4 separate regions of the Homo sapiens genome follow, and regions 2, 3 and 4 are each linked to region 1. Evidence: promoter capture Hi-C in 16 types of primary human blood cells and fetal thymus (Javierre and others, 2016). All regions are on one chromosome and are shown on one strand. Each heading gives the region's core, a stretch centred on a gene start or on the middle of the fragment in contact. The rest is flanking DNA. Distances are from core to core; before and after follow the strand shown. Region 1 holds the start of ITLN1 (intelectin 1). Region 2 holds the start of ATP1A4 (ATPase Na+/K+ transporting subunit alpha 4). Region 3 overlaps COPA (coat protein complex I subunit alpha). Region 4 overlaps NCSTN (nicastrin).

Evidence for each region. Contacts are between HindIII fragments. The CHiCAGO score rates a contact against its expected background, and 5 or more counts as called.
Region 2: a contact is called between the fragment with the promoter of ATP1A4 here and the fragment with the promoter of ITLN1 in region 1, in 11 of 17 cell types (total B cells, total CD4 T cells, naive B cells and 8 more). The highest score is 16.3, in total B cells.
Region 3: a contact is called between a fragment that was not itself captured here and the fragment with the promoter of ITLN1 in region 1, in 1 of 17 cell types (total B cells). The highest score is 7.4, in total B cells.
Region 4: a fragment that was not itself captured here is called in contact with the fragment with the promoter of ITLN1 in region 1 in 5 of 17 cell types (naive CD4 T cells, non-activated CD4 T cells, naive B cells and 2 more); the score reaches 7.1 in naive CD4 T cells.

Annotation. Positions count from the first base shown.
Region 1 is chr1:160,881,894-160,889,737 of GRCh38, forward strand. It overlaps ITLN1 (intelectin 1), which reads right to left and starts at 3,287. Exons shown (of 8, transcript NM_017625.3): 1 at 3,168-3,287; 2 at 2,927-2,990; 3 at 1,535-1,633; 4 at 64-311. The coding sequence starts at 2,984. The HindIII fragment of the contact is 4,692 bases long and covers 1-3,298 here.
Region 2 is chr1:160,147,734-160,155,577 of GRCh38, forward strand. ATP1A4 (ATPase Na+/K+ transporting subunit alpha 4) reads left to right here and starts at 3,870. Exons shown (of 22, transcript NM_144699.4): 1 at 3,870-4,454; 2 at 5,432-5,491; 3 at 7,312-7,515. The coding sequence starts at 4,308. The HindIII fragment of the contact is 4,407 bases long and covers 1,862-6,268 here.
Region 3 is chr1:160,313,194-160,321,037 of GRCh38, forward strand. It overlaps COPA (coat protein complex I subunit alpha), which reads right to left. Exons shown (of 33, transcript NM_004371.4): 9 at 797-932. It also overlaps the pseudogene SUMO1P3. Among named protein-coding and RNA genes, the nearest start is that of COPA, 26 kb to the right of the region's middle. The HindIII fragment of the contact is 2,829 bases long and covers 3,619-6,447 here.
Region 4 is chr1:160,353,542-160,361,385 of GRCh38, forward strand. It overlaps NCSTN (nicastrin), which reads left to right. Exons shown (of 17, transcript NM_015331.3): 11 at 577-749; 12 at 2,114-2,216; 13 at 2,322-2,417; 14 at 2,719-2,806; 15 at 3,059-3,213; 16 at 3,500-3,712; 17 at 4,608-5,408. The coding sequence ends at 4,730. Among named protein-coding and RNA genes, the nearest start is that of NHLH1, 9.6 kb to the right of the region's middle. The HindIII fragment of the contact is 3,648 bases long and covers 1,342-4,989 here.

The sequences.
Region 1 (7,844 bases), core at 2,037-4,536:
GGCTTGTGGCCAGCCACACTCCACTCCTCACCCTCACCCGAGTGGGTAAGAAGTGGCACCAACCTTGTAGTCATCGCTCGTGGCCGCCTCTGCAGATCCAAAGGTGTTGTAGTTGGCCCAGTTGCCGTCCCCCTCTGGGTAGACTGCTTTGCTGCCCTGCTGACTGGACCAGCGATCGCCCACCGTGCACTTCCCACGCATGTCATTCTCGTGCACGCTGGCCACCAGGGTCCAGCCGCCACCCCCAGAGGTCATGTCACAGAAGGTCTGGTAGATAACACCATTCTCAGTGCGGAGAAAATACAGGCCATCTGTAGAGAGAACCAGCCCAGAGCCTCCCTGTCTGAGAGCTGAGGGTTCATTTCAGCCCCATGACAAGAAAGGCCCTAGGAACCAGAGACATGGCCTAAAGGCTCCTGTCCTGACTCACATCACTAAGTGCTCCCAGGGGTACTGGGGCCTCCCTGAGTTCAGAAGATCATGCTCCTGTAACTGAGGCAGAACATAGAATTGTATAAAATCCCAGTGACATTTTTCATAAAGTTAAACATGGAATTATTGTATGACCCAGCAATTCCACTGCAGGTCTATCCCCAAAAGAATTGAAAACAGGGCCTCAAGCTGATGCTTTTACACCAGTGTTCATTGCAGCATTAGTCACAAGAGCCAAATAGAAGAAACAATTCAAATATTCACCAACAGGTGAATGAATAAACAAAACATGGTGTGTGTGCATATATGTATCTGCAGTGGATAAAAGGGAATGAAATATCCATGCTACAGCATGGACAAACCCTCAAAACACTGTGCTAAGTGAAATAAGCCAGACACCAAAGGACAAATACCATATGACTCCAATTACATGAGGTAACTACACTAGGCAAATTCATGGAGATAGAAAGTAAAATGCAGCTACCAGAGACTGAGGGAAGAGAGTTATTGCTTAATAACTCCATGTTATTTTTTGTTTTGTTTTGTTTTTGTTTTTGTTTTTGAGATGGAGTCTCACTCTGTTGCCCAGGCTGGAGTGAAGTGGCACTATCTTGGCCCACTGCAACCTCTGCCTCCTGAGTTCAAGCGATCCTCCCACCTCAGCCTCCCAAGTAGCTGGAATTACAAACATGTACTCCACACCCAATTGATTTTTGTATTTTAGTAGAGACAGGGCCCCACCATGTTAGCCAAGCTGGTTTCAAACTCCTGGCCTCAACTGATCCACCCCTCTCAGCCTCCTAAAGTGCTGGGATTACAGGCCTGAGCCACCGCACCCGGCCCCTCCATGTTATTAAGTACAGAGTTTCTGTTTGGGGCACTGAAAAAGTTCTGCATATGGATAGCTGTGATGGTTGCACAACCTTGAAGGTAATTAATGCCACTGAATTGCACACTTAATGTTGCTTAAAATGGCAAATCTTATGTAAATTATAATATACATATACTTTACCATAATTTTTTAACTAAAAGACAAAAAGACTCCCAGAAGACACAATCCTGATACCCTGACTGAGCTCTGTTTGAATGTTTCATCACTCACCAAATGCACTAGGACATTCGTCTTTGATTTCCTTGCAGCTTCTGGGCAGAGATGGAGACGAAGAACAGGTCCATTCCTTGAAGTAAGTATTAGCCTCATCTAGGGAATACACAGGGTTTATTCTCATTCCCGGTTTGACACAAAACCTACCCTCTCCTATCACTAGTCCCACGCTCATTCCACCACTGTAGCAGAACCTCGCTGCCCGGGTGGTAAGGCCTGAGACAGCCAGTGTCATATCCACTCAGCCCATCAGTGTCACATCCACTCAGCCCATCGGCATCATATCCACTCAGCCCATCCGACCTGACAGCCAGCACAGGCTTAAAGTCTGCCTCCCGCCACAAGACCTGTCCTTGTGCTGGGTCCTGCCCTAAGCACTGAGTAATCAAAGACATTAAAGTTCCCCAGCAAGAGCTTGCCTCTAGAGGGAATTGCTAACAAGTCAACAGAAAATTGTATTGACAAGAATAAATGGTAGAAGAAAGGCAAACTCAAGAGAACAAAAGAAAGACTCTGAGGTAACAGTGGAGAATGGAAACGCCAGACAGTAAGCGGGGCAGTTGCCTGGGAGAAGAAGGCAAGACGGGTTGTCTCATGTCTTAGTCACAGAAGACCTTCCAGTCCAGGTGACATCTTAGCTTATTCTGAGAGAATAAACATGATTTATCAGTAGGAAGCCAATCCAAGGCAGGGAAAACAGCATATCCAAAGGCCTAGAGAAAAAAAAAAAAATACAGCGTAGTCCAGCTGTAGAACTACAAGCTGCTTAATATGGCTGAAACATGGGGTGTGAAGTAGGGAGTGGTGAGACTAATCTCTACTCCAAAAAGTCTGCAAACTATTCGAACAGTCTAGGGGAAAGCTGTGAGGTCAGAGGTGACTGACCTCAGTTTCCTCATACCTAAAACACAGTTAATAAACAGTGCTTTTGCAAAGATGAAGTAAGAAGATATTTCGAAACAGCCTTTTCTTTAAAAAAAAAATTTTTAGACGTGAAGAAAAATATAAATTTTAAAATGTCATTGTTATTCTTGTTGTAGAGAGGAAAACTGTGGAGAGAACATTCTCCAGGCACAAAGCAGACCATGTAGTTCCCATGGAAATCCCACAGCCAAGGCCACAGGAGTGGGCAGTGGCTGGAAGGTGACACAGTTCTTGCCACAGCCCCCTCAGGGCCACACAAAAGCACAGAGCCTGGACCCAGGACATGCCTCAAGCAATACCTTCACTGCCACAGGCCAGATTCCGCCAGAGACCAGAAATCGGCACTCAGTCTACATGCAAGCCAGCCGCTGTGCATCTCAAGGACATGCTCTGTGTCCTGGGAGAGACCAGGATCCCGGAAGTCATCCAGCTGAAGGAACTGCTGTCCCTAGCAGCGTGACTCACCTGTACTCCATCCTCTGGTGGTCGCTATGAGAAACAGCAGGAAGCTGAGTTGGTTCATTGTAATCTAAAGAAAGCAAGATGAAGGTCACCATCTTGGCCATCATTTTTCTCTACATCCCTGCCCCACCCCTGTCCAGTCTTACAAAGACTCCAAAACCCCTTGCCTTTTGTTTAAACTTCACACATCTCTGAGACCAAAAGCAGACCTAAGCTGAAAACAGGATTCCCCCAACTCACAGACCTTGTCTGAGTCTCAGCTGCACTTTCCTTGGGTACAGAGAGCTCCTTCACTCCCTCCCTCCACTGCGCCCTGGAGCTCAACAGAGTGCAGCTTTCTCCAAAAACGCTCCTGATGTGGAATGAGGTGCAGAAAGCTTTATGGAGGAAGCCCAGTGGGGCCAACCAAGGTTTCCAGCCTCACCCTCCCCTGGCACAATGCCCAGTGCAGGGGAGGCTTCTGGTTATCTCGGGGAGGTTATTTATACAGTGGAATTAACAGGTTCTAAAGAAAAAACCAATCCTAAGAATCACCTGCTAGCGTTGTTCCTGGATCTGGGGGTTTCATGGACCTGTGTCAAGTAGGAAGTAGACGAAGAGATTAACAAGAGTTGGTGTTGGTTTTGGGTTTTTGTGCCTTTCTTTCTTGCAAAATAAAAACTTTCTCTAAATTAAGCATCTGTTGGCTTGGCACATTGGCTCAAATCCCAATACTTTGGGAGGCCAAGGCAGAAGGATCACTTGAACTCAGGAGTTTGAGACCAGCCTGGGCAACATAGGGCAACCTCTTCTCTACTAAAAATAAAAGTAAAAAAATTAGCATGGCATGGTGGTACTTGCCTATAGTTTCAGGTGGGGCTGAGGCAAGGCAAAAGGGTAACTTAAGTCCCAGAGATAGAGGATTCAGTGAAATATGACCGTGCCACTGTACTTCAGCTTAGGTATCTCAAAATAAATAAATAAATGAAATTAATCATTGGCCATAATTATCAATTCATAGAAATAGAAAAAGGAAATTTTAACAAAATGGGAAAGTGATCATTTCTGAATAAATTGGTAAAAAGGAATGGAGGGGAAAGAGATACAAAACACACAAAAAAATACGAATAGAAAAGTTTTAAAAAATATATAAATCTTTAGTTTGAATAATTTAGTTTCACACAAAGACTCACTACTTTGTCTTTAATTTTGTCATTTTGCCACAAACGAGGGAAAATTTACTACAGGATTCATTTGAAACTGAATCAATACGAAACCTCTCTGCTGCTTCGAACCTCCTGTCTTATTCCTGCTCCTATGTCATGAAGTTCTCAAATGCTACCCTGCAGCTGTAATAGAATTACTCAGTTCTTCCCCAGTGATATCATACATTTAATACATAATGTCATTATAGCATTAATAATACTGCAACCTTTTCTTACAAAGATTGTGAATATCTTTTTTGTTAAGCTAATATTTCCTATTTGTTGGTTCAAAGTACTGATTTGCAAAAAATACTCACATATTGATAGAAGAAAATAAAATAGCACCCAAGAAGAAAAACTGCAAAAAAAAGTTATACTTTTGTAAATTTAAAATCTATTAGAAGCTATTTGCTCTGTGTATCTGGAAAATAATTAATTAAATAAAATTAAATGTATTAGAAACTAAATTAACTCATCAGTATAGGTAACAAAATGAACATACCCAGCTTTCATATTTACAAACAACAACCTCTTAGAAATAGAGGTCTCAGCCAGGCGCTGCGGCTTACACCTGTAATCCCAGCACTTTGAGGGGACGAGGGTGGCCAATCACTTGAGGTCAGGAGTTCAAGACCAGCCTGATCAACACGGTGAAACCGTGTCTCTACTAAAAATATAAAATTAGCTGGGCACGGTGTCAGGCGCCTGTAATCCAAGCTACTCGGGAGGCTGAGGCAGGAGAATTGCTTGAACCCGGGAGGCAGAGGTTGCAGTGAGCTGAGATCGCACCATTGCACTCCAGCCTGGGCAACAAGAGTGAAATTCCATCTCAAAAAAAAAAAAAAAAAATAGAGGTCTCTAAGTTTACAGTTCACAATAGTAAATACATGTATATAAAGTTAACACCAAGGGCCCAAGATCTAGAGAAAAAAATTAAACATCCCCTCAGTTGTTCATTACTGTGTGTAACTAACCACCTGAAAACTTTATGGCTTAATAAAACAGTAACATATTTGCAAAAATAAAAAAAGAAAATATACACTTATACTACTTTCTTTAGTTGATTCTAAGACACTTTTTTTGTATTTTGACATCTTTAATATCATTATGCATCTCATCCTTAATGGTACATGATGCCATCTAATAGACTGGGAAAACAGTACATCCATTTTAAGGACATTACCCCTTCTAACCATCATCATCCAATCAGTGATTGCGTCCCATTGATTCTACCCCTACTTCCTCTTGAATCTGTTCCCCACACAACTTCCTCCAAACCCCACTGCCCTGGACATTTATTTAGTTCAGTCTGGTTCCTTGTAGCTGTAACTAATAGAAACCCCATCTCAAAGTGGCTTTTCTAAAAAGTAAATCTATTACCTCATGAAATAGAAAATCGAGAGAGAGGGCAAGATCCAGGCTTGCTTGACAGCAGCTTCTCTTTATTTTATTTTATTTATTTATTTATGTTGAGACAGGGTCTCACTCTGTTGCCCAGGCTGGATGGAGTGCAGTGACACAATCTCAGCTTACTGCAGCCTCAACCTTCCAGGCTCAGGTGATCCTCCCACCTCAGCCTCCCAAGCACCTGGGAATACAGGCACACACCACCACACCCTGCTAACTTTTGTATTTTTGGTAGAAACGAGTTCTCACCATGTTGGCCAGGCTGGTCTCGAACTCCTAGGCACAAACAATCCTGCCTCAGCCTCCCAAAGTGCTGAGAGTATAGGTACGTATGTGACAGTATAGATGTGCATGAAGATAGAAGAGTGTGGAAGAAAGCCCCTCACCACCAACTCACTCCAGCCCCACATCTACATCTCCAGTGACTTGGAGAAGGTTTGTTGTAAAATTACACATACAGAGAAAGATATAAAACATTAAATGTGCAGTTTAATAAATTACAAGAAAGGCAAATACCTGTGTAATTATCATCCTAGCTAAGAAATGAAACTTTAGCAGCACCCAGAAGCTTCCCATATGCTGCTTCCAGATAACAGACCTCTCCCTTCCCAAAGGTAATTACTGGCCTGACTGTGATGGAAATCAGCACTTCCTTGTGCCCATACCACATTGTTCCAAATATTTTAGATTGATAAAATGTCTTGATATCCAGTAGAGCAAGGCTTCTCACTTTGCTCTTCTTTTTTGGTTATTCTTGGTCGTTTACCTCTACACATACACACACACACACACACACACACACACACACACACATGCACACACCCTTTAGGATTTTATTGGAATTACATTGAATCTATAGATCATTTAGAAATAATTTACGTCTTTAAAATATTGAGTGTGGCCTGTTTCTTCATTTATTTGTGTTTTTATTGCTTTTTCGTATCTTATAGCTTCCTTATAGGGATTTTGTGTATGATTTGCTATTTGTTCCTTAGTATTTGACTTTTTTTTTCTTTTTTTAGACAGGGTCTCACTCTGTCACCCAGGCAAGTGATTCTCCCACCTCAGCCTCCTAAGTAGCTGAGAACACAGGTAAATATCACCACGGCCAACTAATTGTTTTATTTTTTGTAGAGATGGGATCTCACTATGTTGCCCAAGCTGGTCTCAAACTCCTGGGCTCAAGCAATCCTCACACCCTTGGCCTTCCAAAGTGTTGGGATTACAGGCGTGAGCCACCATGCTGGCAGTGTTTGACATTTTTGATGCTATTATAAATGCCATATTTTTGAAATTTTATTTTCTAATTGTTTGATGCTTATATATAGAAATACAACTGATTTCACAAATATATATATATTTGTGAGATATATATATATTTGTAAGATATATATATATCTCAATGACAGCACAGGAAAGACAAAGTATCAAAATAAATATAAATTTTCAGCTTGAATAAATTTAGTTTTATGAAAAATAATATTTTTTCTTACTTTTCTCATTTTGCTACAAACCAATGAAAACACTCTTTTGGTGGGGGGTCATTCTAGAGTAGCACTGGCCCCCAGACTACATTTTGGAATCACTGATCCAGGACAAACTTCCTCTGATGCTTCAATACCTGCTTTGCCATTTCTGTCCCAGTGTCACTCCTCAATTTCCTGAGCATAAATGTCACTCATGCCTCTTCTCCCTCAACAATGGGATGGATCACTTCCTGCCCGGTGTTGCCACATCCCTTATGCCCATTATTATCTTAACACGATAACATGACCTTTTCACTGTTTACATGTTTCTCACAGCAGTTCTTAAGAAAAGGTTTATGAGGCACCATATTTGTTAAGCTAATACTTTATTTGTGGAGAGAAAATATTGAACTATATATTTTCAGATATATTAACAAAAGGAAATAGACTGTATCTAGGTCCAAGACAAATATTCGATTTTTTTTTTTTTTTTTTTTTTGAGACATGGTCTTGCTCTGTCACCCAGGCTGGGGTGCAGTGGTACAATCATGGCTAATTGCAGCCTTGACCTCCTGGGCTCAAGCGATACTCCCACCTCTGCCTCCTGAGTAGCTGAGACTACAGGCACATGCCACCACACCCAGATAATTTTCTAATTTTTTTTAGAGATGGGGTCTCACTATGTTCCCCAGGCTGGTCTCTAACTCCTGGGCTCAAGTGATTCTCCCACCTCATTCTCCCAAAGTGCTGGGATTATAGGTGTGAACCACTGTGCCCAGTCCAAATAAAATTTATGCTTCTTATAAAACTATGTCTAACACTTTCATATCTCTGATATTGAGTGCATCCTTCATTCAATGGCAT
Region 2 (7,844 bases), core at 2,620-5,119, 730 kb before region 1:
ATCTCAGAGGTTTTTTCTAAGTAATTATGAAGCAAATGAATAGATCACTGATGCTAACATATTTACCCCAACAGATTTTAAAACACATCAGACCACTGGCCGGGCGCGGTGGCTCACGCCTGTAATCCCAGCACTTTGGGAGGCCAAGGTCGGCAGATCAAGAGGTCGGGAGTTCAAGACCAGCCTGGCCAACATAGTGAAACCCTGTCTTTACTAAAAATACAAAAATTAGCCAGACATGGTGGCGCATGTCTGTAGTCCCAGCTACTCAGGAGGCTGAGGCAGGAGAATCGCTTGAACCCGGTAGGTGGAGGTTGCAGTGAGCTGAGATTGCACCACTGCACTCCAGTTTGGGCAACAGAGTGAGACTTCGTCTCAAAAAAAAAAAAAAAATCAGACCAAAGTGGCAATTATCAAAACCTTGTAGCATTAAGATAAAACCTGAAAACTCATTAGTCATTCAACATCTATTCAGGGACTATTTGTGGACCAGCTGCCCTGTGCCAAGCACTATCCTAGGAGCCAGGTATATAGCTGTGGAAAAAAACAGGGAAGGTCCCTAGGGTCATGGAGAACCAGACAAGTCAACAAGACAAGTCAATCAGACAAGTCAACAGTTAACAGGCAGGATAATTTCAGAGGGAGAGAAGTGTTGTGAAGATCAAAAGTGATAGAGAGAGGGCTGGCGCCGGAGGGGCTGTTTTGGATTTAACTATGAGAGAAGGCCTCTCCGAAGAGGTGGACTTTTGAGCTAAGATCTCTAGAACAAAATGAGGTTTCTAAAAATAATTTCAATTGATTGTATCTCCATAAAGTTGCTTTTGGGCAATGCCCATCTGCAAGACTGAGCTAAGTGTTATTGTCACATAGATGATGCATAGAAAAACATATGAATTTTAACTTTAATTCTAACCTTCTTCTTAAGAATTTTATGTTCATCTACATTAAACACAAAGACTGGGAGAAAACATTTGTGTTATATATGACAAGGGTTTCCTACAAATCAATATAAAAAAGAAAACAATGGAAAATTGGGCAAATTGTAAGAATGACAATTTACAAAATAAATAAATAAAGTCCAAGACCAGGCATGGTGGCTCATGCCTGTAATCCCAGCACTTTGGGATGCCCAGGCAGGCGGATCACCCAAGGTCAGGAGTTCAAGATCAGCCTGGCCAACATGGCAAAACCCCATCTCTACTAAAAAATACAAAAAAATCAGCTGGGTATGGTGGCGTGTGCCTGTAGTCTCAGCTACTTAGAAGGCTGAGGCACGAGAATCGCTTGAACACAGGTGGTGGAGGTTGCAGTGAGCTGAGATTGCACCGCTGCACTCCAGCCTGTCAAAAGAAAGAAAGAGAGAAAGAAAGGAAGGAAGAAAGGAAAGAGAGAAAGAAAGAAAAGAAGAAATGAAAGAAAGAAAGAAAACCAGAAAGCCAGTAAACATAAGAGAAAATGCTCACATTGACAATTTAAAAATGCAAATTAAAACTACAAGATATCAAAGTTCACTGATTATAATAGTAAAAATCAAGGTCATCTAGCATAATCAAAGGTGTGGAAGGCAGACATTCTTGCATCCTGTTGTTGGGATGCAGATAGATAAACACTTTTAAAGACCAATTGGCAGAATCTTTTAAGATTGTTAATGAGTGTACTCTATGATTCAGCAACAGGAACTGATTCTACAGAAATAGAAGCTCAAGGGCCTGATGATATCTATGTGCAAGAATGACACTCTAGCAATTTTATTAATGGTTAAAAAAATGGAAAATATCTCATAAATCCATCAGTAATGGGAATGATTGAATAGAGCATGGTCAATACAGAATATGGAAGCCTCACAGCACTGAAAAAAAGAAGCTTTATGTACATGACAGGTTGGTAGAGAGTTGAATGATTGTTTAAAAGTTGAAAAATACCTCCTTTTAGATATCTATTTGTATAAACATAGAAAAAAGACTGGAAGGACATGCAGCACATTGTTACCAGCAGTAACTTCAGCAGTGGGGAGAATCTGAGTTTGGAGGGAGGGAAGGTGGGGCTTTCAATTTTTATCTTAAACATTTTTAATAGAGAAGAAAAATCCAATCTGTTAAAGAAATAGACGATCATTTATCCCAGCTGGGAAGGGAGCATTTCTATTTCTGAATATTCAAGGAGGATTGCATCAGCACCAAGATGAATGTTTCCAGATACAGTCATATTTTTAAAAAGCATGCCCAACCAAAATGCAATTAAATAAATATCAGGCCAGGCTTGGTGTCTCACTTATGTAATCCCAACATTTTAGGAGGCCAAGGCCAAGGATTGCTTGAGCCCAGGAGTTTGAGACCAGCCTGGGCAACACAGGGGCACCCCGTCTTTACTAAAATAAAATAAAAAAAATTAGCCGGGCATGGTGGCACATGCCTGTGGTCCCAGCTACTTGGGAGGCTGAGGTGGGAGGATCACTTGGACCTGGGAGGTTGAGGCTGGAGTAAGCCATAATCGCACCATTACACTCCAGCCTGGGCAACAAAGTGAGATCCTGTCTCAAAAAGTAAATAAACAAATATCAAACAACAGAATGGGAAAATCTATGTGACGTGCATAATTGAAAAATATATATAATGGTTGACAGAAAAGTATAGATGCTTCAGATTATTCTTGGAAGGAGGTAGAATCCTATGGACATGCAAAACATATATACAGTTAATATAGTCAAAGCACTTACTGAGACACCAGAGAAGGTCAATGGAAGAGGTAAGTACATCATTTTAAAATGAGAAAATGCAACGCTATCACATGGAAAAGCATATTTTTACCCTCACTGAGAAGAGCTGCATATTAATCCACAAATAAAACTACTACTGAATTCAAGCTACCTATTGAGCACATACTATATATGTCACATAGTGCTTTTTGTAGAGCACCTCACTTAAGGTAGAAGGTATCCTCTTTTAAAAATAAGAAAAGAGAGGTACAGAGGTTAGGTAACTTGCTCAAAGCCACACAGCTGACAAGTGGAGGAGTTGGGATTGAAATCCAGGACTGGTTCCAGAGCCCAAGATCTGATCTATTCTGCTAGCTGATCTCCTAAAATTAAAAGATCAAACCCAATGTTAGTGGAAAAGTGTGCCTTGCTAAAAAACACACACAGAGTACCTGCTTTTTTTTTTTTTTTGAGATGGAGTCTCAAAAACAGACGGGAGAATATTAGTCCAAACTGCAACTGCACCATTTTGTAAGCTCCCTGCTATGGTTTTTTGTTTGTTTGTTTGTTTGTTTGTTTGTTTGTTTGTTTGTCTGAGATGGAGTCACTCTGTCACCGAGGCTGGAGTGCAGTGATGCAATCTCAATTCACTGCAACCTCTGCCTTCTGGATTCAGATGTTTCTCCTGCCTCAGCCTCCCGAGCAGCTGGGATTACAGGTGCCCACCACCACACCTGGCTAAATTTTGTATTTTTAGTAGAGATGGGGTTTCACCATACTGGCCACGAAGGTCTCGATCTCAGCCTCCCAAAGTGCTGGGATTACAGGCATGAGCCACCGCGCCCGGCCGAATACCCGCTTTATTTTTGAGTCATCTATTTGGCATACCTCTAAGCCTCCAAAGTCTGCAGGACCACACAAGAACTTTGTTCTAGTTCTGCCCTCAGACTGAAACTCTTTCTGTAGCAGGGCCTGCTCCAATCGTCCTCAAACCCAAAGACTGAGACTTCTAGGTTCTTGGTTAAAACCTTCATGAGGCCTTTGCGACAGCAGACCTGGACCATCGCCAAGGCAAGACTTCTGGATTCTTGGTTAGAACTTTCAGGAGGCCTTTGTGATGCCAGACCTGGGTCATTGCCCCAGCAACCACAGGGCCTGGGACTGGGGGGTTCCCAGATCCTTGAAGCTCACTCCGCCTCCTCACTCTCACTGCATTTCCCACCTTCCTGTGGGCCTTGCGGCATCTTCATCACTGAGGCACCTGGTTACGCTTCACCTCTTGTTTCCTGCCCTCACTGCATTCCCTCACCTCTACCTTTTTATCCTTCCACCCTAGGCTTCTCTCCTCCCTCTTCCCTCACTCCTGACTCTTCCTCTTCCCAGCGGACGGCTGGAGGACCGCTCAGTCTCTCCTCTCTCACTTCCCTTCCTCTCTCTCACCTTCACCACCCAACACCTCCCTCCCTGCCTCTTTCTTTCTGCTCCCTCATTCTCTCCCCACCACTCTCTTCTCGTGGCCCCCTTGCCCGCGCGCCCTCTTCCCTTCCCCTTGCCTCACTCTCTCAGCTTTCTTCCCACAGTTGAGCTCGGGCAGCTCTTTCTGGGGATAGCTATGGGGCTTTGGGGGAAGAAAGGGACAGTGGCTCCCCATGACCAGAGTCCAAGACGAAGACCTAAAAAAGGGCTTATCAAGAAAAAAATGGTGAAGAGGGAAAAACAGAAGCGCAATATGGAGGAACTGAAGAAGGAAGTGGTCATGGTGAGGCCACCCAAAGTGGGCGCTGACAGCTGCCCTCTGAAAACACTCCTCCACCTATCTTTAACATCTTACCTTGAGAATGAAACACACAGGCCAGAGCCACATCTCTTCTCTGTTAGGCTTTGGAGGGAAGGAGAGGGTTAAAAAAAAAAAAAAAGATACACACAGAGAGACAGGGCAGCTCAACAGCAAGCACAGGTATATTGCAGACACCTGTGGAAGTGGGGGATCAGCTTAATTCCACAGTCCACTGCCACTTACAGGCTGGGTACTTATAGGGATGGATGGGAGGAGTCTGGGCTGTATGGCCTGCTGCCTGGCAGGATATCGATAAGATGTTCTCATGATGAGGTGATTTTTGGCCCTTGTTTCCACAGAATATAATCATGGTATTCCCTGGACCTTTGCCCAGCAGGATGTGATAGGGATGTTTCTTTAGTGGGGTCTTTGTCTTTAATTGGGCCTTCGTCTGCCCTGTGGTCAGGTGGTTAGGCAGGCTGTTTCTCTGGCCCGAACCCCCGTGAAATGTTTCACTTTGACCAAGGCCTGTAAAATAGTGGGGAGCTAGGCCGGGCGTGGTGGCTCACACCTGTAATCCCAGCACTTTGGGAGGCTGAGGCAGGCAGATCACCTGAGGTCAGGAGTTTGAGACAAGCCTGGCCAACATGGTGAAACCCCGCCTCTAAAAATACAAAAATTAGCTGGTCCTGGTGATGGGCCCCTGTAATCCCAGCTGCTTGGGAGGCTGAGGCAGGAGAAACACCTGTTGGGAGGCAGAGGTTGCAGTGAGTCGAAATCGCACCACTGTACACCAGCCTGGGCAACAGAGTGACTCCATCTCAAAAAAAGAATTGCAGGGAGCTTACAAAATGGAGCAGTCTCAGTTTGGACTAACATTCTCCAGTCTGTTTCTCCCCCTCTCCCTGGAAATGACCTGGGCCACCCCCTGTCCCTCAATGCCTCTACTGTCCCCTCAGGATGATCACAAATTAACCTTGGAAGAGCTGAGCACCAAGTACTCCGTGGACCTGACAAAGGTGAGTAAGAAGCTCCCTGAGGAGGCAGAGAGTCTCCAACTCTGACTGTGAGGCTGCCAGGACAAAAGCTGAACTAGGAATCCAGCCCCCTAACTTCAAGTCCAACGTTCCCACCCCTCACCCTCTGCCTGGCCACGTTCCATGGACACTACCTGGAAAAAGCTGCAAATGGTAACTACCCTCAAAGAGAGTGTGGGACTAGATAAGAGAATAAGAATGCTTTAGGGCAGTGCTGGTCAAACGTCTTGTCCTTAGGTCTCCTTTACACTCTTAGAATTTATCTAGGACCGCAAAGAACTTGTGCTTATGTGGCTTAAGTCTGTCTATATTTACCATATTAGAAATTAAAATTGAGAGTTTTAAAATGTATTTCTCAATTCATTTAAAAATAACAAAAATAAAGTTATCATATATTCATATATGTTTTGACAAATAACTGTATTTTTCAAAACAAAAAAATTAGCAGCATCTTACATTTTTGCAAACCTCTTCAATGTCTTGCTTTTTAATAGAAGATAGCTGGATTCTCAAATATTTTCTGGATAAAATCTGTTGTGATGTTATGCCAGTTGGCCTTCAGAAAATTCCACTATATACTCTTAAGAAAATGAGAGTAAAAAAAGGCAAACAATGATTTAGTATTACTATGAAAATTGACCTTGTGGACCCCCTGAAAGGGTTTTGGGGCCCCTCGGGTGTTTCAGGCAGAGGTTGGGGAGTGGCTGGTGGTGATTGGCAGGTTCTACTATCATTTTCATTAACAGGAAAAAGCACATAAGCTTGTGCACAAGAGTGGAATGAGAATCTATGCATTCATGTTTTTTGTTAGTATTCTTTTCTATTTATGTTTTTTAAAAATTTATGGGCCAGGTGCCGTGGCTCACACCTGTAATCCAAGGCAGGCAGATCACTTGAGGTCAGTAGTTGGAGACCAGCCTGGCCAACATGGTGAAACCCCATCTGTATTAAAAATACAAAAATTATCCTGGCATAGTGGCACACATCTGCAATCTCAGCTACTTGGGAGGCTGAGGCAGGAGAATCACTTGAATGCAGGAGAATCACTTGAACCTGGGAGATGGAGGTTGCAGTAAGCCGAGATCATGCCACTGCACTCCAGCCTAGGTGACAGAGCAAGACTCTGTCTCAAAAAAAAAAATGGATATGTAGATGTACATATTTATGGTATACATGTATTATTCTGATATAAGCATACAATGTGTAATGATCAAATCAGGGTATTTAGGATACCCATAACCTCAAACATTTATCATTTCTTTGCATGGGAACATTCCAAATCCACTCCTCTAATTATTTTGATATCCATAATAAATTATTAACTATAGTTGCCCTATTGTGCTACCAAACACTAGATCTTATTCCCTCTAAGTTGGAGAGTCAAAGCGTGGTGTTAATATGTTATCAACATTAAGTATTATATTTCATCATGACATTGGCCCTGCACATTATAATTATCTGTATGTATTTATCTCCCCACTGGAGCACCTTAAGGGTAGGGACCATTCTTATTCATGTTGGTATCCTCAGCACCTAGGACCCGAGATAGGTTCTCAAGTTCAAAAAGGTTTGTGAATCAATCCATAAACAAAAACCTTCCTATGTAAGCATGCTAAATGACATCCCTCCTCTAATGCAAATTTTGAAACCTCACCTTATCCAGGAAGAACTTCCAGACTGACCTTCTGAAAGCGTCTTTAGTCTCTAGACCCATTCTGGGGCTCCAAATGTCAGGTTCCCTTTTGCTATGGCTGTTCCTCTTTTCACAGCTCTCTATCCAACCCTATTTCTTCTCTGCACAGGGCCATAGCCACCAAAGGGCAAAGGAAATCCTGACTCGAGGTGGACCCAATACTGTTACCCCACCCCCCACCACTCCAGAATGGGTCAAATTCTGTAAGCAACTGTTCGGAGGCTTCTCCCTCCTACTATGGACTGGGGCCATTCTCTGCTTTGTGGCCTACAGCATCCAGATATATTTCAATGAGGAGCCTACCAAAGACAACGTGAGTCTCTTCAGCTACTACTAGCCAGCCCTATCTCTGCTTAGCCCCAGACACTCTTTTGCTCAGCAGCCTAGCACTCCTGAAGTCCTCTGGCCCAAATCCCTAATTACATTATTACATTAATGTAATAATGTAATAAATGTACATTAATTATAAATGTAATTGATTGTAATTAATTACAATGTAATTGATTAATTACATTGTAATGAATGTAATTAATTATAAAATGTAATTAAATGTACATTAATGTAATAAATGTACATTACATAATAATGTAATAAATGTACATTAATGTAATAAACCAAAATCCCTAATACTCCACTTTCTAA
Region 3 (7,844 bases), core at 3,783-6,282, 570 kb before region 1:
CATTAATTTCCTAGGAATCTTCAGCCCATCCTACACAAGAATATTAAATGGTAAGCCAGCAAGCTGATTAAAATGTAAATCAGGGAGAGTAAACTGCATATCCTAAGTAACAGTAGTCGTGATAAATTCTACCAAGGAACAAAAAGAGGAGACTTCAAAACTGACCATATTATTATGATATATAGATTTCCCCTTTTCAGCATAATTTTATGGCTTTCATTCTGCATTTTTTTTTTTTTGAGACGGAGTCTCGCTCTGTTGCCCAGGCTGGAGTGCAGTGGCGCGATCTCGGCTCACTGCAAGCTCCACCTCCCAGGTTCATGCCATTCTTCTGCCTCAGCCTCCTGAGTAGCTGGGACTACAGGCGCCCGCCACCACGCCCGGCTAATTTTTTGTATTTTTAGTAGAGACGGGGTTTCATTGTGTTAGCCAGGATGGTCTCAATCTCCTGACCTCGTGATCCACCCGCCTCAGCCTCCCAAGTGCTGGGATTACAGGCATGAGCCACCGCGCCCGGCCTCATTCCGCATTTCTTACTTCTCTAGCTACAGAACTGGGGAAAGGGGGAAGAAGAAAACATGTTTAAATTTAGAGGCAAAAAATAATATACATGGAGATTTCTATTTGATGGAAAATTTGTAAATGTTGACTGATCTCTAGGTCTCTTCAAATTTTCATAATATATGATTTGATTTGTCTACATGCTGAAGATGATGAGAGACATAAAGAAGTATTCCAATCTAATTTTAAAAGAGAGAGTAAGAGAAAGTTCACACAACACTGAGGACTACCTTACCGCTTAGACATATCCCAGACTCGAATACTCTTGTCCTCAGAATTGCTGAGGATCAACTCTTGGCGAGGGTGGAAGACGGCACAAGATACATTGTTGTAATGGCCCCGGCAGGTATCAACCTCCCATGCCTTTGATTCTGAAGGACAAAAAGAATTAGGTCATCACAATTCCCTACTACTATAACTTTAGGATTTGGAGATATGACATCCTCTTCATCAAGAACTAAGTACTATTACAGAATGCTAAATTGCCAACTTCTTTCTAATATGGCAATCTTCTTCATTTAAGTCTCTTAATCTTTACATGTCTTGGTTCTTTCATTCTGACCCTCTTATTGATTATAAAACCTCTTCTCTTGGCCAGACATGGTGGCTCACACCTGTAATCCCAGAACTTTGGGAGGCTAAGGTAGGGGGATCACTTGAGCCTAGGAGTTCGAGATCAGCCTGGGCAACATGGTAAAAAACCCCATCTCTACAAAAAATACAAAAATTAACTGGGTGTTGTGGCGCACGTTTGTAGTCCCAGCTACTCAGGAGGCTGAGGGGGAGGATCGCCCAAGCCCAAAAGGTCAAGACGGCAGTGAGCCGTGAATGCACCACCAAACTCCAGGCTGGGCAACAGAGCAAGACCCTGTCTCAAAAAAACAAACACCTCTTTTTCATCATTCTCCATCCCTTTATCCTGTTTTATCTGTCCTGATAACAACTGTCCTAGTTGGCCTTTCAATTTTTGTTATTTTTTCTTTTTTTCAGGGACCTGCCACTTTAGGAGTTGCCATTTTAGAACAAATATGAGCTCCTTCAGACAGGGGCCTTATCTGTTTTAGTCACCGCTGTATCTCCAGAGCCTTAAACAAAGTCTAGTACAAAGGAGGTACTCAATAAATATTTGTCAAATGAATGGATGAATTCTATGTTCATACTCCTCAAAATAAGGGTACCACCACAGGAAAAAAGGGAAAGAAGGAATACTTTCAGTTTCAAAACAGTGGTATAGAAGCAAGCTGGCTTCACTCCCCTCCACAGAAAACCCAAAACAAATATACAGTGCTGAGATTTTCATCAGCAACAACCCAGAACTCAAATATGACAATGAGACAGTTCCTGGGGCCACAGAGAGATGAAAAAACTCTGAGCAGATGGTAAGAGCATCTGATTTCCACATCTGCAATGGCCCTCCCCCAACTCATGGTTTCTACACTGGAAAAAGTGAGACTGAGGAGGTCAACTACCTTCCCCATCTTCCTGGGTGCCCTGGCAGGAGATCTAACCTTGACTTAACCCATGGGAAGCATCACGACTGCCTGAAAGGGGAAATATCCCTGAGGACAGGCAGAGAGAAAGCGGGGAGGCAAGACTATCACACCCAGCCCCAGAAACTCTGCTCTGTTACTTGGCCAAAGGAGATGCCAAATCAGAGTGGCTGCTCAGCAGCACTGCATTGCAGGAAGTATATTCCACAGGTCTGCCCATACACGAACCTCTAGCCAGCCTTGACACACAGCTGGGATAATCCCTTTGGGACCTCCCCATTCAGGACAGACAATGCTCTGGTCATTTACTAAAGCCAAGGTGAACCCGGACTTAAGGTGTCACCTAAAGCCAAAGAGGAGGAAGTGACCTAGCAGTACAGATTTGCTAAGCAAATATATCCAATAAAAACCAAAGCAAGCCAAACAGAGAAAACTGGAATAAGTAACTAATCTTTCAATACAAAGACATAGGTGTATACCCAAAATAAACAATAGCAAACAGGGAACCATAACCTCCCCACAAGGACAAAGCAAAAATACAATGACTGACCCTAAAATGACAGCAATTTGTGATCTCTGACCAAGAATTAAAACTGGTAGTTTAAAGGAAACCCTGTTATCGCCAAGAGATGGCTGAAAAACAATTAAGAAATTTACCAGAGAAGTTTAACAAAGAGATTGAAACAATGAAAACAAATCAAACAGAAATCTTGAAACAGAAACACATTTGCTGAAATGAAGAGCTCATTAGAGACTCTGAATAGCAGACTGGACCAAGTGGAGGAAAAAAATCAGTGAGCTCGAAGACTGGCTGTTTGAAAAATACACAGTCAGGCTGGGCATGGTGGCTCACACCTATAATCCCAGCACTTTGGGAGGCCGAGGTGGGTGGATCACAAGGTCAGGAGTTCGAGACCAGCCTGGCCGACATAGTGAAACCCTGTTTCTACTAAAAATACCAAAATTAGCCAGACCTGGTGGTGGATGCCTGTAATACCAGCTACTTGGGAGGCTGAGGCAGGAGAATCACTTGAACCCGGGAGGTGGAGGTTGCAGTGAGCTGAGATTGTACCATTGCACTCCAGCCTGGGTGACAGAGCAAGACCCTGTCTTGAAAAAAAAAGAAGTCAGAGGAAAAAATAAAAAGAATGAAAAGGAACAAAGACTACCTACAAGACTACAAGATACAGAAAATTGCCTCAAAAGACCAAATTTAAGAACAATTGGCTGGCGTGGTGGCTCATGCCTGTAATCATAGCACTTTGGGAGGCTGAGGTGGGCGGATCATCTAAGGTCAGGAGTTTGCAACCACCCTAACCAACATGGAGAAACCCTGTCTCTACTAAAAATACAAAATTAGCCGGGTGTGGTGGTGCATGCCTATAATCCCAGCTACTCGGGAGGCTGAGGGAGGAGAATCACTTGAACTCGGGAGGCGGAGGTCATGGTGAGCTGAGATCGCACCATTGCACTCCAGCCTGGCCAACAAGAGCAAAATTCTGTCTCAAAAAAAAAAAAAAAGAATGATTGGTTTTCAAGAGGGAGCTAAGCAAGAGCAAGCGTAGAAAGCTTATTCAAAGAAATAATTACAGAAAATTTTCCAAAACTTGAGGAAGAAATATCCAGGTACAGGAAGGCCTGAGAACACCAAACAGGTCCAACCCAAGTAAGACTACCCTAAGGCATATAAAAGTCAAACTCTCAAAAGTCAAGGACAAAGAAAGGATCCTAAAATACACAACAGAAAAGAAGCAAAGAACACACAAAGGAGCTCCAATTTGTCTGGCAATAGATGTTTCAATGCAAACCATACAGGCCAAGAGAGAGAGGAATGACATTTTCCAAGTGCTCAAAGAAAAAACCTGACATCTAAGAATACTGTACCCAGCAAGATTATTTTATTTTCCAAATATGAAGGATAGTATTTCCCATACAAACAAAAGGTGAGAATTTACCACCACCAGATCCATCTTACAGTAAGTGTTAAAAGTAGTTCTTCGATCTGAAAGAAAAAAACACTAATGTGGTAGCGGAAGTTACTGCAGCTGCGGTGTTGTGCTGTGGGGAAGGGAGAAGGATTTGTAAACCCCGGAGTGAGGTTCTGCTTACCCGAGGCCGCTGCTGTGCGGAGACCCCCGGGTGAAGCCACTGTCATCATGTCTGACCAGGAGGCAAAACCTTCAACTGAGGACTTGGGGGATAAGAAGGAAGGTGAATATATTAAACTCAAAGTCATTGGACAGGATAGCAGTGAGATTCACTTCAAAGTGAAAATGACAACACATCTCAAGAAACTCAAAGAATCATACTGTCAAAGACAGGGCGTTCCAATGAATTCATTCAGGTTTCTCTTTGAGGGTCAGAGAATTGCTGATAATCATACTCCAAAAGAACTGGGAATGGAGGAAGAAGATGTGATTGAAGTTTATCAGGAACAAATGGGGGGTCATTCAACAGTTTAGATATTCTTTTTATTTTTTTTCTTTTCCCTCAATCCTTTCTCATTTTTAAAAATAGTTCTTTTGTAATGTGGTGTTAAAAACGGAATTGAAAACTGGCACCCCATCTCTTTGAAACATCTGGTAATCTGAATTCTAGTGCTCATTATTCATTATTGTTTATTTTCATTGTGCTGATTTTTGGTGATCAAGCCTCAGTCCCCTTCATATTACCCTCTCCTTTTTAAAAATTACGTGTGCACAGAGAGCCCACCTTTTTCAGGACATTGCATTTTCAGGCTTGTGGTGATAAATAAGATTGACCAATGCAAGCGTTCATAATAACTTGCGAATTGGCCCTGATGTTCTAGCATGTGATTACTTCACTCCTGGACTGTGACTTTCAGTGGGAGATGGAAGTGTTTCAGAGAACTGAAACTGTGGAAAAATGACCTTTCCTTAACTTCAAGCTACTCTTAAATTTGAGGGTCTGGACCAAAAGAAGAGGAATATCGGGTTGAAGTCAAGATAACTGATAAGGAGAGAGTAATGACTAACTCCAAAGATGGCTTCATTGAAGAAAAGGCATTTTAAGATTTTTTAAAAATCTTGTCAGAAGATCCCAGAAAAGTTCTAATTTTCATTAGCAATTAATAAAGCTATACATGCAGAAATGAATACAACAGAACACTGCTCTTTTTGATTTTATTTGTACTTTTTGGCCTGGGATATGGGTTTTAAATGGACATTGTCTGTACCAGCTTCATTAAAATAAACAATATTTGTAAAAAAAAAAAAAAAAAAAAAAACAAAAAAAAAAAAAAAACACTAATGTGCAAAAAGAAAACTTTTCAAGATATAAAACCCAAGATGTAAAATTAAGTTCATAGACAAACCCAGAAGACTATATTACTATAATGGTGGTACACAATCCACTTATAACTTTACTATGAAGCCCAAAAGACAAATATATCAAAAGCAATAATAGCTATAGCAACATGTTAAAGAGATAGTCAAAAAGGCAGGAACAGAAATGGAGTTAAATGTATAATTTCTGAGTGTGTTTTAGCCTTTGTTTTTGTTCTTGTGTTTGTGATATAAAATAAGCTGTCATCTCTTTAAAATACCTTATTCTATCTATAAGATTTTTTTTTGTGAATCTCATGGTAATTACAGCACAAAAACTATTAATATATACTCACTAAAAATAAAAAGCATCAAATTAAGACATATTACCAAAGAAAATCACTTAACCACAAAAGAAGACAGTAAGAAAAGGAAGAGAGAAGCCTCAAAAAAAAACAAAACAAAACCAGAAAACAAGCAAAAAACAGCAGTAATAAGTCCTTGCTTATCAATAATATCACTGAATGTAAATGCTCTCAATTCTTCAATTAAAAGGCATAGAGTGGCTAAACGGATAAAGAGAGAAGACCTAACTATATGCTGCCCTCAAGAAACCCATTTACCTATACAGACACACATAGACTGAAAACGAAGGAGTGGGAGATATTCCATGAAACTGGAAACCAGAAAAGAGCAGGCGTAGCTATACTTACATGAGATAAAACAGACTACCAAACCTAAGATTGTAAAAAGAGACAAAGAAGGTCACTATATAATGATAAAGGGGTCAATTCAGCAAGAGGAAATAACAATTATAAGTATCTGTGCACCCAACACCAAAGCTCCCAAGTATATAAAGCAAACACTAATAGATCCAAAAGGAGAGGTAGACTACAATATGATAATAGTAGGAGAGCTAATACCCCACTCTCAAAAACAGACAGATCATCCATACAGTAAATCAACAAAGAAACAGTGGAGTTAAACTACATACTAGATCTAATAGGCCTAACTGCAATTTACAGAACATTTCACCCAACGGCTACAGAATATTCTTTTCATCAGCACATGGAACACTCTCCAGAATAAACTATACTTTAGGCCACAAAACAAGCTTGAAAAAATTGTAAAAAATAGAAATTATATTAAGTATCTTTTCTGAACACAATAGAACTAGAAATCAATAACAAGAGGAACCTCAGAAAATACAAACACATGTAAGTTAAACAACATGTTCCTGAAAGACTAATGGATCAATGAAGAAATTAAGAAGGAAATTTAAAAATTGCTTGAAACGAATGAAAATGGCAATACAATGTAACAAAATTTATGGGATATGACAAAAGCAGTACTAAGAATGAAGTTTATAACATAAACACCTATGTCAAAAAAAAAAAAAAAAAAAGGAAAGACTCCAAATGAACAATCTAATGATACACCTCAAGGACCTAGATAATAAAAAACAAGCCAAACCCTAAATTAGTAGAAGAAAACAAACAATAAAGATCAGAGCAGAAATAAAATTGAGACTAAAAAAAATACAGACTATCAATGAAACGAAACACTTGCTTTTTGAAAAGATAGTATCAACAAACTGTTAGCTAGACCAACTAAGGAAAAAGGAGAGAAGATCCAAATAAATAAAATCAGAAATGAGAAAGGAAACATAACAACTGAGACCTCAGAAATACAAAGAATCATTAGAAACTATTACGAGAATGACATGCCAACATACTAGAAAACTTACAAGAAATGGATATATTCCTAGACACATACAACCTACAAAGATTGAACCACGAGGCCAGGGATGGTGGCCCACGTCTGTAATCCCAGCACTTTGGGAGGTGGAGACAGGTGGATCACTTGAGGTCAGGAGTTCAAGACCAGCCTGGACAACATGGCAAAACCCTGTCTCTACTAAAAACATAAAAATTAGCTGGGTATGGTGGCACAGCCTGTAGTCCCAGCTACTTGGGAGGCTGAGGCAGGAGAATTGTTTGAACCCAGGAGGTGGAGGCTGCAGTGAGCTAAGATTGCCCTGCTGCACTCCAGCCTAGGCAACACAGCGAGACTCCAACTCAAAAAAAAAAAAAAAAAAAAAAAAGATTGAACCACGATAAAATAGAAAAACTTCTAAAAACCAGTGCCTAGATCAAAGCCTTAATAAAAATTCTCCCATCAAAGAAAAGCCCAGGACCTGACTGCTTTACTGCTGAATTCTACCAAACATTTAAAGAATTAATGCCAATCCTATTCAAACTCTTAAAAAAAAAAAAAAAAAAAAAAAAGGAAGAGGAGGGAATATTTTCAAACTCATTCTATGAGGCCAGCATTACTCTGATAACAAAACCAGGCAAGGACACCACAAAAAGAGAAAACTACAGGCCGATATCACTGATGAACATAGATGCAAAAATCCTCAACAAAATATTAGCAAACCAAATTCAATAGTATACTGATAAGATCATTTACTAAGATCAAGTGGGATTCATTTCAGGGATGCAAGAAT
Region 4 (7,844 bases), core at 1,916-4,415, 530 kb before region 1:
TCCAATTGTCAAGGCTGCTCTACCCAAGTCCTGGCTGTGTCACACTCGCTGCCCAACTTGTCCTCCACTTTCCTCATTGCTTGTTCAAAACCTTCCCTTCCCTCTAGGTCCACCTTTAGGCCTGCTTTTTTCCAGGTGGTCCTCTTTCTGCAATTCCAGCCTTCAGCATCATCCCTGCTCTGGACTCCTGTAGCATTTAAAGAATTGGTTATCTGTTTGGCATTCAGCACGCAGTTTTCTATTATTATTTGCTCCCTTCAATTCTGCACAATAAATAATAAGTGAAGCATCCACTGAGGATAAAGCAGAGTCTTGAAGACAGTAGAATTTACTTATAAATATGAAAAAAAAGGTCTCTTCTTTATGCCCCAATTTTCTAACTCTAAAAAGAATGGTGGAAGCTACAGGAAATTCAGAGAGCCTTGGTCCCAAAAGGCTTGAGGGATAAAGGTCTACTAGAGATAGGGTAGCTCCCCAAGCAGGGAACTTGAAGTATAGAGCATTTCAGGCCTAAAAGAGACCTCCTGCTTCCCATCCCCCAGCCTCCCATCAGTTAATCTCCCTCGTACCCCCCAGGTGGAGGATCTCCTGGCCACATTGGAGAAGAGTGGTGCTGGTGTCCCTGCTGTCATCCTCAGGAGGCCAAATCAGTCCCAGCCTCTCCCACCATCTTCCCTGCAGCGATTTCTTCGAGCTCGAAACATCTCTGGCGTTGTTCTGGCTGACCACTCTGGTGCCTTCCATAACAAGTAAGAATCACTTGGCCCTGCACCCTCTTCATTCTTGAAGAGAGTCTATTCTGCAGTCTGGGAGGAAGGTCACTGCCCTCCGCTTTCCCACACTACCCCCTCCAGAACTTCAGGTCCATCTGTATTCTTTGCTCAGTGGCGTTTTCACATCTGAACTGAAACCCTTATTTGTTTGACTGGATATTCATCTTAGAAACTCATCCTCACCCTTAGCCCTTTACTGTCAACAATCCTTGGTTATGGTTCCACTGCTCCCTAGCTCTCCAGGGTCCTGAGTTCCTCAGGGTTGCCAGCAGAGGGCATCATCTCAAACACAAGCATGGGAAGGATGGTGGGGGCCCTTTGGCTAGAAGACAGAAAGCAGTCCTTCTCTGGAACTCACCCAGAGGTGCCAGAAACAGTATTCATACTCTGTGAAATGTACCATGTTCTTGCCATGTGGTAGATGGCCATGGTTCAGTGCGAGGGTAAAAGTGCCTCCTATAGCTGATGGGGCTCCAGAGATACAAAGGGTAACTCTGGGTTACCCTTTAACTGCTCCTAACTTGAGGCCTTGGATAACAGGGGACTTCTTACTCAGGCTGGATTGCCAAGCTTCCCGAGGGCCAAATGAGTTTCGTAGTGAAAATGCTTGAGCTCTATTTCTGACCCCAGCCAAGTAGCACCTTCTCATTCATTTAGGGGAGTGACCGTCCTAGCACTTAGGGTCAGCTGTCTTCTCTAAAGCTATCCTTGTACCACTTTGGGGCAAGTGAAGATTCATCATTTGAACACATTTTGGATTTGATTATGTAGCTGACTTGACTTTGTGTGGGACAGGGATTTACTGATGGTAAAGACTGTGGAGCTCAGCCTCTCTTTTAAGATCTATCTCCTTGGGGCTCCATAAGGATCATCATGGTGATTTTATCAGTGTATTCTTATATATCAGTGAGCAGACCTGATCCTAAGACCTGCTAATCACCTCCTGCTCCCAGCTACCCTAAATATAAATGTTCATTGGAACAGTTATACAACTGATCTCATGATACATGGCAGAGTTCTCTGAAAATCATCTTAGCCATCCCCCATATCTCCAGCCCAAATGATGTAGAAGAGTCTCTCCTTTGTTTAAAGATCTGAGCTCATTCAGCTTTTCTACCTTGTCTGTCAGGAAAGTCTTTAATTTTCACTAACCACCTCACCCTCACTCCTACCTCCCTGTTCTCCACACCTTCTGCAATATGGGATCCTGATTGTCTCTCACCCCTTTCTTCTGATGCTGAAAATGAGATACTGAGTCCCTGCATAAGGAGCATTTGAGGGAGGAAAGGGGCAGAGCCCTGGCTAAATGTAGCCAAGGCTCATGCCGGCTTTCCTGGCAGATATTACCAGAGTATTTACGACACTGCTGAGAACATTAATGTGAGCTATCCCGAATGGCTGAGCCCTGAAGAGGACCTGAACTTTGTAACAGACACTGCCAAGGTAGCACTGAGCCAGGCTGGGTGGGAGCCTGGGGCACACAGTGAAGATGCTAGCATTTGAGGATAGGAGAGGTGGGCCATTCAGCCCCCTCCTCACCTACCACAGGCCCTGGCAGATGTGGCCACGGTGCTGGGACGTGCTCTGTATGAGCTTGCAGGAGGAACCAACTTCAGCGACACAGTTCAGGCTGATCCCCAAACGGTAAGCAGATGGGCCCTAGCTCCTTCTTTCTATTTACACAGCAAGCTGTCCCTATCCTCCCTTGCCCTAGTGTCCCAAACCTTGGAATTCCACATGACTGTTGATGCCGGTGAGAATGCCTCATGCCCCAGAGAGCTCTTGGGTGGGCCTCATCTGCATCTTATGAGCCAGCTACTGTCTCCCAACTCCAGTCTATCTGGCCAGTCTGGTTCCTGCCCCATGACTGGGTCTCCACTGATAATTCTTTCCCTGGGCTCCCTTCAAGTCACAGGGTTTTCTCTCTTTACTGTTCCAATCCTAGGTTACCCGCCTGCTCTATGGGTTCCTGATTAAAGCCAACAACTCATGGTTCCAGTCTATCCTCAGGCAGGACCTAAGGTCCTACTTGGGTAAGCATCTGGTGTGGGAATGGGACCCTTAGCTGAGGAAAGGGATAGAGAAAAAGTCTTTTGGTTTAACCTTTATTATTTTTTTTCTTTTTCCTCTCTGTTTTTCTTACCCCCTGTTTTCCTTTCTTTCTTCTCATATTTGATGGATCCTTTTCCATTGCCCTTCTTTCTGGCTGCTGCCAATCTTGGGCTTTTCCTATTTCACCCACCATCCACCCACCAAATCTTCCCTTCCCTTTGGTCTGCACTCAGGTGACGGGCCTCTTCAACATTACATCGCTGTCTCCAGCCCCACCAACACCACTTATGTTGTACAGTATGCCTTGGCAAATTTGACTGGCACAGTGGTCAACCTCACCCGAGAGCAGTGCCAGGATCCAAGTAAAGTCCCAAGTGAAAACAAGGATGTGAGTGGTGGTGGGTGTTGGAAGTGCCCTGGGGCCCCTTTCCCTTGGGAAAGTTGGAGGTTCTTCTAGACCTAGTTAGACCCAGGGGATTGGGATGGAGAGGTGGAGAGATGCAGTCCTCAGCAATTGGGTGTTGAAAAGCCTGGGTGAAAATGGACCATCTGAAGGGTAAAGGGACAGCAGCCAGTTAGCTCAATTGGTTAGAGCATGGCACTGATAGAGGGTAGAGGGAACGAGTGAGAAGAGGATCACCCTAGCCGTGTGTTGTGGCGCATCTTCTGTGCAGCTGTATGAGTACTCATGGGTCCAGGGCCCTTTGCATTCTAATGAGACGGACCGACTCCCCCGGTGTGTGCGTTCTACTGCACGATTAGCCAGGGCCTTGTCTCCTGCCTTTGAACTGAGTCAGTGGAGCTCTACTGAATACTCTACATGGACTGAGAGCCGCTGGAAAGATATCCGTGCCCGGATATTTCTCATCGCCAGCAAAGAGCTTGAGGTGAGATGGGGCAGGGGCATAGGTGGCAGGGATCTGTTTGACTTCTTTCTCTGCTTTCTTGTGTCATATAGCCCTTTCCATCTCCCATTTGCCCCACATTTGTAGCAAAAGCCTACTGCAAATCTGTCCCTGGTCAGCCAGCATGTTCCCTTAGGAGGCCTTTTTTTTGAGATGGAGTTTCATTCTTGTTGCTCAAGCTGGAGTGCAATGGCACAATCTCAGCTTACTGCAACCTCCGTCCCTTGGGTTTAAGCAGTTCTCCTGCCTCAGCCTTTCGAGTAGCTGGGATTACAGGCATGTGTCACCACACCCAGCTAATTTTTTTTTATTTTTAGTAGAGATGGGTTTCACCATGTTGGTCAGGCTAGTCTTAAACTCCTGACCTCAGGTGATCCACCTTTCTTGGCCTCCCAAAGTGCTGGGATTATAGGCGTGAGCCACTGCACCCGGCCAGGAGGCCTTTCTTCACAGATAGTTTGAGTAGGTGTTCATTCTGGAGAGCCCCTGTGGATCCCAGAACTCTTTCACAGCTTCAACTCCCGGCTGGCATTCCCCATCTGGCACAGCTGGGATGAGTCAGTCTAATGTACCGAGCTCCTGTCACAAGTCAGTAATGTAAGTGCCGCAAGGGAACCAAAGCCATGGGCCCTCCTTTCAAAATGCCTAAAATCTAAGTAATACAAGATGGAAGCAAGAACAGAGATGCTTTACTTCTCTTTTCAAATGGGGAGACAAAGTCTGTAGGCTGGAGAGATGTTGCCCATGATTATTCCATAGTTGGTGCTTAGAGCCAGCATCCGAATTCCCATGGCTCCAAACCCCAAACAGTTATCCAAAAAACTGCACTGAGTTCTGAGAATGCCTTTGTCCTTTCCTGCCCTCCCTCCCCCTGCAGTTGATCACCCTGACAGTGGGCTTCGGCATCCTCATCTTCTCCCTCATCGTCACCTACTGCATCAATGCCAAAGCTGATGTCCTTTTCATTGCTCCCCGGGAGCCAGGAGCTGTGTCATACTGAGGAGGACCCCAGCTTTTCTTGCCAGCTCAGCAGTTCACTTCCTAGAGCATCTGTCCCACTGGGACACAACCACTAATTTGTCACTGGAACCTCCCTGGGCCTGTCTCAGATTGGGATTAACATAAAAGAGTGGAACTATCCAAAAGAGACAGGGAGAAATAAATAAATTGCCTCCCTTCCTCCGCTCCCCTTTCCCATCACCCCTTCCCCATTTCCTCTTCCTTCTCTACTCATGCCAGATTTTGGGATTACAAATAGAAGCTTCTTGCTCCTGTTTAACTCCCTAGTTACCCACCCTAATTTGCCCTTCAGGACCCTTCTACTTTTTCCTTCCTGCCCTGTACCTCTCTCTGCTCCTCACCCCCACCCCTGTACCCAGCCACCTTCCTGACTGGGAAGGACATAAAAGGTTTAATGTCAGGGTCAAACTACATTGAGCCCCTGAGGACAGGGGCATCTCTGGGCTGAGCCTACTGTCTCCTTCCCACTGTCCTTTCTCCAGGCCCTCAGATGGCACATTAGGGTGGGCGTGCTGCGGGTGGGTATCCCACCTCCAGCCCACAGTGCTCAGTTGTACTTTTTATTAAGCTGTAATATCTATTTTTGTTTTTGTCTTTTTCCTTTATTCTTTTTGTAAATATATATATAATGAGTTTCATTAAAATAGATTATCCCACACGACTTGTACTGCTAGTTATTCTTCCCAGGCCACCTTGTTCAGCGAGCCTAGACTGGAAGTCATGAAGTTATCTTTTATGCTATCATCTTGGGCTCCAGAGGACCCAAGGAGTAAGGCTCTGTCAAAAACAGTTGAAGTCCTTTCAAATTGCAGAGCCCTGGTTCTCCTCTTGTAAGAACAATGTTAACATAGTTTCTTCTCACTTTGTAATGAACGGGCATTTTTTTTTTTTTTTTTTTTTTTTTTTTTTTTTGAGATGGAGTCTTGCTCTGTCACCCAGGCTGGAGTGCAGTGGCGCGATCTCGGCTCACTGCAAGCTCCACCTCCCGGGTTCACGCCATTCTCTTGCCTCAGCTTCCCAAGTAGCTGGGACTACAGGCACCCACCACCACGCCCAGCTAATTTTTTTTGTATTTTTAGTAGAGACGGAGTTTCACCATGTTAGCCAGGATGGTCGTGACCTCCTGACCTTGTGATCCACCCACCTCGACCTCCCAAAGTGCTGGGATTACAGGCGTGAGCCACCGCGCCCGGCCATGAACAGGCATTTCTTTATTCACTCTGAGACACTGGCTGGGGTACAGAGATGAAGAGAATATAACCCTAACCCTCGAGTAGCTCAGCTGGGATGAGAAGAGAGACAGACATTCTCACAACTACATGTAATCCAGTGTAATAAAAGGAATAATTGCAGCATATCCCAAGTGCTCTGGTAGCACATAGTGAAACTCAGGACCATGTCAGGGGTGACATTCAAGTGATGATTTAAAGCGTTCACCAGTTGTGGAAGCACAGAGTCAAGAAAAGGAGTGAGTCATGTTTGGGAGATGGTAAGTTCAGTGTGTCTGAGCCATAAGCATCAGCAGGAGGCGAGGTTGGGCTAAATCCCGAAGTTCTTGGCTGGCATGCTGCTAAGGAGTTTGGGTTTCTGTTAATGGTGGGCCTTTTGTAGGCCAAAACAAGTTTGGACTGTTTTAGAAAAAGAACATCACCTCTGTAGAGATCCTCAAATTCCCTGGGTCTTCACGGAGGCAAAATTCTGGAGTATAGCAGCACTGCTAAATAATCGTGGGCAGCGGCTGAGTCAGCCAAGGGGGAAAGAGAACCTGCAGGAGCAGAAGCCTAAACCCAGCCTTCACTCCACTGCTGGCCAGGAGGCTGCTTCTGACACGTGCCTGAATACTCGCAGCAATGGAAAGGGACTGGCTGGCAGTATTCACAGGGTCTCAAGCACTCCTCTTAGTTCCCTGATTGGACTACTTACCTTTTCAAATCCTGCTGAGAAGAGGTGATTTTTCTCCAGGTTTCTCTCCAAGTTCCCCTGGGGGGAAGGGAGACATGTTTGGAGTTCAAGAGATGAAATACACCCTGCTACTTCTCCCCCACCCCAACCCTCCCAGTTTGAGCTGGAGAGGCTGTGTGATGCTGGCGGAAGTCGAGCACAGCTGCCACCATCGACTGGGCCAGGCTCCACACCTCCCTCGGCCAACAGGTCTCCCAGCGGACAGAGCAGTAAACTCCCTCATCCTGCTGGCAGCTTCAGGAAGCAGAGAAGTGGCTGGGTACCAGTGAGGGGGCTGAACAGGGAAACACGGTTGGGCGGAATCGTGATCAAGGGGTAAGTAAGAAGTTACAAGATGTAGGACTGTCACTACTTCAATGTCCTCTGCCTAGGGAAGCATCCTGAACACAAGCTTGTCTGCTGCCTTCCATGTTCCCTTACCTTCCACCTCCTAAAAAACCAGCTTAGCTTTTTCCATGGCTCATGGAGAGGCCAGGCCCCATAGAAGGAGCACAGCCATCCAGATGACCCACTGGGCTCTCACCCTCCCTTTCTGAGACCATGGTTCTGGCTTCTTACCAGGTATCTCCTATGCCCTGAAGACCATGTGTGACTGGCTGGAAGCATCTAATGGGCCATGTACTTCTCAGTTCCTTAGCCTCCACCTCTCCCTTGATCTAGGCCTTGCCTACCCATGCCTTCTGAAATATTTCATTTTCCAGCCCCTTTCCTTTCCCTGAGGGCTTTCCTCCCTACCTACTCCTGCTTGTTGCTAGCTGACACTGTACCTTCTCTTCCTCCCAACCCATGCCAATAATTGAATAACTGACCACTCCTGCCCCAAGACCCAGCCTGCCTCTGCCTATTGTGATATCTCGTCCCTCAAGACGAAGCCTTTCCTACCCACTGGTGTTTCTTTCCCAGCTTATTTGAGTAAAGGGATTTTCTATTTTTTTCTTTTTCATCTCTGGGCCACTGCTCTCAAAGGTACATATTAGGATGAGATACTGTTTACCCAGAGTACTCTGTGTCACCATTATTCAGTAGGACTTTTGTTTCTTCAAGGGACCTTAGAAATCATTTGCATAGTCTAACTCATTTGACTGAAGAGAGAAACAGCCCAGAGGAGTGATGTGGCTTGCCCAAGGTCACA